Linked DNA regions of Homo sapiens: region 2 is linked to region 1. Evidence: promoter capture Hi-C in 16 types of primary human blood cells and fetal thymus (Javierre and others, 2016). All regions are on one chromosome and are shown on one strand. Each heading gives the region's core, a stretch centred on a gene start or on the middle of the fragment in contact. The rest is flanking DNA. Distances are from core to core; before and after follow the strand shown.

Region 1 (4,292 bases), core at 1,018-3,517:
CCTAGGCCTCCCAAAGTGCTCGGATTAAAGGTGTAAGCCACCTTGCCAGTCCTGATTAAATTTTTTAAATAAGGTAATCATATATTACCTTAAAGTAATGAAACAAAATCTATCTCCTTTGTCAAGGCAGCAAAGGAAATTTCTTGATACCCATATTTTGAAGATAAGCAAATGCAGGTTCTGTCAAATCAGCATAAGAAAGAGAAGGCATATTTTTAGAATGATCAAGTGTCTGAAGCAGCCCAGCAGAAAGGTCTTCCTTCCCATCAGGAGCCCTGTTTAGTGTTTACACAAGATACATGCAATGTGTGAACTTTTATGACACCTACCTCCTAGAAAAGCACTACAGTAAATTTCTGGATGAGAAATTACTTACTGAAGAGATAAGCCAAATTGTTTTAAAATTTCTCCAAATATCCAAAAAGTTTTTCCATCCTTTAGAATAATTTATTCCTAAATTTTATTCCAACAAATAAGCTAACACTGCTCTCCGAATCATTTTCTAATTAAACTTTGAAGACGAGACAAGGATCATAACAGAAACAAAGAACAAGAAATATTACTAAAAATTAATCAGTCTTAACAGAGATATTCTTACCAAATGCCATCTGGGACACATCCAGATCGGAAATAGAATACTGAGAGGTAAGAGAAAGGCCTGAACTGCACCAGAGTACTTCCTAACTCCTACTGTACACTCGACACACAGACTTCCAGGGAAAGTCCTGGGGTTCCGCTAGATGTTTTAATGGTCTCTCTTTTCCTGTTTCAAAAATTCTCCCCAAGAACAAGCAACAGAAACCCCTAGCTTCCAAAAAGTAACAAGCTGTCAGCAATGAAGCAAACAGAAACCCTTTCACTGGCACATCTGAGATGCCCACGGAGTCTGCGGACCCCCCGTATTCTGGCAAGCCTGACTGGAATACTGGTAAAATGTACACCTCATTCATCCCTCGGCAATTAACCTCCCCATCAGCAACGTGTTGGTTTTATTCCCAACACACATAGGCAAAAAACTTCAATCAACTCTTCCTAATATTTAAGATAATTTCATTAATCACCACGTAAGTTCACCACTTTACTTGGCAACCACAACTCATTCAAACGCCTGCAGACCAACTTAGGCTTAGATGAGCAGATCTCTTAGGTGGTGCTTAAAATCGTGTTACTACCACCGTGATCATGAACTAAATGAAATGTCCTGACAATGTAGGAAGAGCCTCAAATCTCAGGCTGTTTTAAGTGCCACTAGGAAAAGAAATCTCCCATTGGACGCGCCCTCACTCCCCGCCCCCCCCCTGCCCCGCCACTCCCGCCGAGGCGTCCTAAAAGCATTATGTCATCCACTGCCCCCACATCTCTCCAGCTCCAAACCCCGCCTCCTCTCGAAGTGTCCCGCGCCCCCAGCCCTCTTCCCTCTCAGACTAGAAGAGGGAAGTGGCACTGAGCAAATCTCGGCTCCTCCAAGTTCTCTTCACAACGCAGTTAAAAGAACCCCCGCCCTGGTTTCTCGCAAATAAAAAGAAACAAGTTCTCGCCCCAACTCTTCGCATCCTGCGAAGGGCGAGAGGGCTGAGGCCGTGACTCCCCTCGGTGAATTCAGGACAGGCCCCAACAAGGCTCTGCCTCCCCTCGCGAGAGGACAAGGGAAGACCCAAGTGAGGGAGCGGGGCTGAAGTGGGGGAAGGCCTCGCCCCAGGAGGGGGCGGGTGTCCCTCATGGGCTCTGGGTTGCTGGGTCACTCTGTCTCTGCGGGGCCGGGGGTTCGTGTCGCCGGCCCGCAGGCTGCAGGGTTACCGCCATCCCCGCCGTAGCCTGGGACCCGCCGGGACAGGGAGCTGCAGCGGGCCCAAACTCACGGTCGGTGCAGCGGCTCCTCAGCCACAGCCGGGCCGGGTGGCGGCGGGGGCGGCGGCGGGGGCGGCTGCGGCTGAGGCAGCAGCGGCTGTGCCTGCGGCGGCGGCTGAGGAAGCTGAGGAGGCGGCGGCGGCGGCGGCGGCGGTGGCGGCTGTTGCTGCTGCTGCTGCTGCTGCTGCTGCTGCTGCTGCTGCTGCTGCTGCTGCTGCTGCTGGAAGGACTTGAGGGACTCGAAGGCCTTCATCAGCTTTTCCAGGGTCGCCATGGCGGTCTCCCGCCCGGCACGGCAGTCCCCGGAGGCCTCGGGCCGACTCGCGGCGCCGCTCAGCACCGGGGCAATGAATGGGGCTCTGGGCCGCAGGTAAAAGCAGAACCTGAGCGGCCGTCCATCTTGGACCCGTCCCGGCAGCCCCCACGGCGCCTTGCGTCCCAGACGCTGCGCCGGCGGAGGCGGGGCCGCGCCGGCGGAGGCGGGGCCACGCCGGCCAGCATGATTGACAGCCCTAGCCTGCGGACTCTGCCAATGGCTGGCCAGGGAACCAGCCCGCCCCTGCCCCCGCAGGTTCTGCCTCACACAGCAAGGCCGCTGACAGCGCAGCGCCCCACCCGGGCGAAGGCGCGGGGCTCAACGGAGAGGGGACGGGGCGTGGTGAGACTGTAATGGGGTGAGGCGAAGCTGTGTGTGAAGTGTCGCGGCGAGGCGGGACGAGGAAGGGACGGGGCGGGACTGCATGGTAAGGGAGGCGTGGCGATGCGGGGGGCGTGGCGATGCGGGGGGCGTGGTGAGGTAGGGGCGTGGCGAGGCCGGGGCGGGGCACAGCAGGGAGGCCGCCTGAGGGGCGGGGCGAGACGGGGGCGGGGCGGGGCGATGCTGGGGACGGGGACATTAGGCAGGCCGGCTGAGGGGCGGGGCGGCTGAGGGGCGGAGCGGGATAGGGGAGGGGACTGGCCGGTGAGGGGTGGGGAGGCTGGGGGCGGGGCAGGAAGGTGAGAGGTGGGGCGAGGGAGGGGTGGGGCGCGGAGGGGCAGGGCCATGGAGGGGCTCGCCCATGAAGGACGGGGCCATGGACGGGGCGGGGCCGTGGAGGGGGCGCCGAGCGCGGGCGCAGGCCCATGCGGAAAGGATCCCCCGCCGACGCCTGGAGCGGGGCGACAGCCGGCCGTGGACTCTGAGCCGAGGTGGCCTTGGGGTTTGCCCTCCCGCCACACTGGCCCGTGGCCAGAGCCATACTCACCCGGACAGCCCTGCGGGGAGCCAGCTGCGGGGCTCTCTGCACGGGGAGAGGGTGGGCGAGCTCCTGCGCAGAGCGCAGAGAATGCGCGTGGTCGGCACGACCTGAGGACCCCAAGTGTGACCCCCACCCCACCCCCAGTGAGCTGGAGAGGCCCCTGCAGGGCGGTGTCCACAGGCCTGGCGCCCCCCATCGGTCCCAGCGCAGCGCCCCGGAAGGGAGGAGAGGGTCTGGGGCAGGCCTGGGTGGTCAGCGCCTGCTGCCCACAGAGGCACTGTGATTAGTGCAGCGAGAAGCAGCTATGGCCACAAGATGCCGCCCACAGGAATGAGTCCCGACCTGGGGGCGTTTCTTTATGGGAGTGCACCCCTGCTCTGACCTTCCGGCAGGACCCCCAAGGGGCGTCATTCAGCAGCAGCTCAGCAGAGGTCTGTGGGGCACCCCCTCACGCCTGGGACACAGGCCGTGGCGGGCAGGGTCCTGGTCTCCAGAGCCTCCTGCCTTTTGGGTGGTAGAGGGGCAAACGGAGAGGGCAGCTGTCCAGCCTGCCCAGCAGGGAGTAAGGTTGGCCTCAGAGACAACCGCCCAGCCGGGGGGTGATGCAGGCAGAGAGGAGCCCAGTAAAGCCTACTTTAGCCAGGCCACACCTGCAACCCAGAGTCCCCTGCTCTGTGGCCACAAACAGCACCTCCGCCTTGTCTCAGAGCCTGTCCTAAAGGGAAACCCAGCATTGTCCCCAGTGGGGTAGCAGTAGCCTCCCTTTTCTTGAGAAGGACAGCAGAGAAACAGCTGTTAGTTCCCAGTTCTTGGGAGGCTGATGTGGGAGGATCACCTGAACCCAGGAATTTGAGGCTGCAAGTGAGCTAGGATTGCACCACTGCACTCCAGCTTGGGTGATAGAGCGACACTGTCTCTAAAAAAATTAAGTTCCAGCGAGGTGCGGTGGCTCACGCCTGTAATCCCAGCACTTTGGGAGGCCAAGGCAGGCAGATCACCAGAGGTCAGGAGTTCGAGACCAGCCTGGCCAACATGGCGAAACCCTGTCTCTACTAAAAATACAAAAATTAGCCGGGTGTAGTGGTGCATGCCTGTAGTCCCAGCTATTCCGGAGGCTGAGGCAGAATTGCTTGAACCTGGGAGGTGGAGGTTGCAGTGAGCCAAGATCATGCCATTGCACTCCAGCCTGGGTGACAAGAGTGAGAC
Region 2 (3,958 bases), core at 72-2,571, 1.1 Mb after region 1:
GCTGGTCTCGAACTCCTGACCTCAGGTGACCCGCCTGCCTCAGCCTCTCAAAGTGCTGGGATTATAGATGTGAGCCACCATGCCCAGCCAAAATAAGGACTCTTTATGTTGCAGAGTCAGGCAAATAAATTAGAAAAAAAGATAAAACTGCCTTCACAAATGGCATGATTGTCTTTGCAGAAAACTAATACAATGTATGAAAAAACTACTGGAACAAATAAATGCGTTTAGCCAGGCTGCAGGATACAAAATCAACACACAAAAATCTGTTGTATTTCTATATACTGGCGACAAACACTGATAAATTAAAAATTTTAAACAACACCCTTTACAACCACATCAAGGTTATGCAATACTTGGAGGCAATTCTGAAAAGATGTGCAAGACCCTTACATTGAACACTACAAAATGGGGCTGAGAAAATTTATTTTTTAATTTATTTTTAATTTTTTAGAGACAGAGTCCCACCATGTGGCTCAGGCTGGTCTTGAACTCCTGAGCTCAAGTGATCCTCCCACCTCAACCTCCTAAGTAGCTGGGACTACAGGCGCACCACCAGCCCAGCTTTTTATATTTGTTGTAGAGATGGGGTTTCGCCACGTTACTGAGGCTGGTTTCCAACTCCTGGGCTCAAGCAATCCACCCTCCTCGGCCTCCCAAAGTGCTGGGATTACATAGCCATGAGCCTAGCTGAGAGAATTTAAAGACCCAAATAAACAGAGAGAAATACTATGTTCACTAGACAGAAGTTACCAGTTCTCCCTCAACTGACCTACAGATTCAACACAATTCCACTCAAAATGCCAGAAGCCTTTTTTTTTTTTTGTAGAAATTGACAAACGATTCTAAAATTTATATGGAAATGCAGGCTGGGCACTGTGGCTCACCTGTAATCCCAGCACTTTGGAAGGCTGAGGTGGGTGGATCACTTGCGGTCAGGAGTTCTAGACCAGCCTGGCCAACAGGGTGAAACCCCGTCTCTACTGAAAATACAAAAATTAGCCAGGTTTGGTGGTGCATGCCTGTATTCCCAGCTACTTGCAAGGCTGAGCCATGAGAATTACTTGAACGCAGGAGGTAGAGGCTGAAGCAAGCTGAGATTGCATCACTGCACTCCAGCTTGGGCAACAGAGCCAGACCTTGCCTCAAAAAAAAAAAAAAAAAAAAAAAAAAAAAAGGAAATACAGAGGACCTAAAATAACCCAAATAACTTTAAAAAAAAAAAAGTCAGAGAATTAACACTACCTGATTTCAACACTTATTTTAGAAAGCTATAGTAACCAAGACAGTCTGGTATTGGCATAAAGATAGATGAGTAAGTCAGGATAGAAAAGTCCAGAAAGGATCGTCATTTCGACAAATAATATGGGAACAACTGGATACCATGTTTTAAAATGAAAAAAACTTTGGCTTTCTAATTTTGCAATCTGATAGGTGTAATGAGGCATCTTGTTATTTTAATTTGGGTTTGTCAGGTTGCTGATGAATTTAAGCATCTCTCCATGTGCTTCTCCGGTATTTGGGTTTCTCCTACGAATTGCTTTTTTTTTTTTTTTTTTTTTTGAGACAGAGTCTCGCTCTGTGGCCCACGCCTGAGTTCAGTGGTGTGATTTCCGCTCCCTCCAACCTCTGCCTCCTGGGTTCAAGCGATTCTCCTGCCTCAGCCTCCTGAGTAGCTGGGATGACAGGCATGAACCACCACGCCCCACTGTTTTCGTATTTTTAGTAGAAACGGGGTTTCACTATGATGGCCAGGCTGTGAATTGCCTATTCTTATCTTCTGCACATTTGTCTATTGTCGGTCTTTTTCTCGTCGATTTACAAGCATTCCTTTTTTCATTCTGAATATTAATCCATTGCTTTCTGATGCTGTAACTAAGTCCTCCTAGTGGTTTGTCTTCTTGGTTAAGCCAGATGTTAACTTGGATTTTTCCTGCATAAAACTGAAGACTCAAGATGCATCAAGCACTGTATACAGAAAAGTGCTGCGTATCCTACAGAAAGCTACAGACAGTTGGGGGTCAGAATCATTCGGATTGTTTCAAGTTTGGGGCTATTATAAATAAAGCTGCTATAAACGTTTGCACACAGGTTTCTGTGAACAAAAATTTTCATTTCAACCAACTAATGTTTACGGTTCAATCATGATTTCACAACTTGAAGTAACTTTCACTCTTCTCATACTAAATTTGATATGTCGTCCACTGTTAAACTATTTCTTACCCTCAGATTATAATTATTAAACTTTTTTTTTTTTTTTTGAGAGGGAGTTTTGCTCTTGTGGCCCAGGCTGGAGTGCAATGGCAAAATCTCGGCTCACCGCAGACTCCGCCTCCCGGGTTCAAGCCATTCTCCTGCCTCAGCCTCCCGAGTAGCTGGGCTTACAGGCAAGCCATGCGCCACCAAGCCCGGCTAGTTTTGTATTTTTAGTAGAGACGAGGTTTCTCCATGCTGGCCAGGCTGGTCTCGAACTCCCGACCTCAGGTGATCCGCCCGCCTTGGCCTCCCAAAGTGCTGGGATTACAGGCGTGAGCCACCGTGACCGGCCTAATCATTAAACTTCTTTCAGCACTAGCCCCACTGATGTCACAACTTCACCCATTAGTCAATAACTTGTCTTTGCTGAATTCGACACTTTTGAATCATTTAAAAAATATTCTCTTAAATTTTATGTGCTATTTGCAATGTAACGGTTGTCGACATGACAGTTTTAAGTTTAATCTTTATCATCAACATTTTCTCTATCACTTTCTTCAGTTTAAGCAATCAACAAAACCACCGCTCCAGCACTGATTTGTAGCATTTGCGGGTTTCCCCCGTGTGACTTCCGCAGGACTGCCAAGTTCAAGCCGCCAGGGCCAGGGCACTGCTAGCAGCTGGGCTGAGCCCTGTTCTCCCGGCGTTCCCACCGCCCAGTGGCAATAGCTGTGAACGGCGGCAGGAGCATGGCAGTGGAACAATAAGGAAAAGATCTTTTAAAAAAAAGATATAATACAGAAGCCAAGCAAGGCGGCCCCGACCTGTAACCCCAGCACTCTGGGAGGCAGAGGCGGGCGGGCGGATCGCTTGAGCCCAGGAGTTTGAGACCAGCCTGGCCAACATAGGAAGGCCTCGTCAAAAAGACAAAAGGGTAAAACGAATTTAATAAAATGAAGTTTAACTTTTACTCATGTTTGTATCTAATGACAAGCTTTTAAAACTGAAAAGTTCACTACTGGCTCCTGCCTGGCGGCTCCAGCCCGACTGGGGGCCGGGGCCTCCCTGCACTGTGGGGTCACGAGTGCCCCTGGACAGCTCCCGAGCGCCCTCCGACCCGCATGCTCAGCGCAGCCCCGTCGGCGGCGCGCCACGGGCAGAGCGGGCTCAGCGGGGGACGGAAGCTCAGCGCTGCGACCGGGATCCCGCAGGCTCGCTCCGCAGGGCCGCGGCTCCTCTCCGTGCAGGTGCTGGGCCCGCGGGGGCGGGGCGTCCACACGGTCCGCGCCGAGACCCAAGCGGGGAAAAAGCGAAGAGCGGACAGCGGGGCAGGTGCCACAGGGAGCCTCCGCCCCACCGCGCGAGCAGCAAGTCTGCGGCGCTTGACACCTGCACTGCGAATGCCAGGCCGCAGCCCGGGCTCCCAAGACGCGAATACGCGCGCCTGCTCGTGACGTCATTTTTTGCGGTCTTCCCGAGAGCCAGCAGAGGGCGCCGCCATGATGTTTTACGGAAGCCGATAGTCCTTGCTCAGCGGCACCCCGTCCTTCCGGCTCTCGGCTTTGCCACAAAGCTTCCCGAAGACGCGGCCGCTACCCGGAGACGCGGTCGCCACCCAGAAGCGCTCTCCCGGGAAGCCCCGCTCGTGGGACCGCGCCACCTGCGCCGCCTCTGCGGCCCGCAGCCCGACGGGCGCCGCCATGTTGGGGTCCTAGCGAGGGACGCGTAGGTGTCTTCATAAGATGCCGGGGCAGCGGCGCGC

Evidence for each region. The method cuts DNA at HindIII sites, captures the fragments that hold promoters and counts their contacts. A CHiCAGO score of 5 or more calls a contact.
Region 2: a fragment that was not itself captured here is called in contact with the fragment with the promoter of HTT in region 1 in 1 of 17 cell types (neutrophils); the score reaches 5.4 in neutrophils.

Annotation. Positions count from the first base shown.
Region 1 is chr4:3,072,656-3,076,947 of GRCh38, reverse strand. It overlaps HTT (huntingtin), which reads right to left and starts at 2,267. Exons shown (of 67, transcript NM_001388492.1): 1 at 1,860-2,267. The coding sequence starts at 2,122. It also overlaps HTT-AS. RefSeq lists enhancers at 1,372-1,421, 1,432-1,661 and silencers at 1,822-1,891, 2,002-2,441, 2,592-3,211. The HindIII fragment of the contact is 9,982 bases long and covers 1-4,292 here.
Region 2 is chr4:2,008,973-2,012,930 of GRCh38, reverse strand. LOC124900839 reads left to right here. Exons shown (of 4, transcript XM_047416543.1): 4 at 2,758-3,925. The coding sequence starts at 3,170. The coding sequence ends at 3,925. It overlaps NELFA (negative elongation factor complex member A), which reads left to right and starts at 3,957. Exons shown (of 11, transcript NM_005663.5): 1 at 3,957-3,958. RefSeq lists a silencer at 3,207-3,586 and enhancers at 3,647-3,958, 3,774-3,958. The HindIII fragment of the contact is 3,743 bases long and covers 1-3,192 here.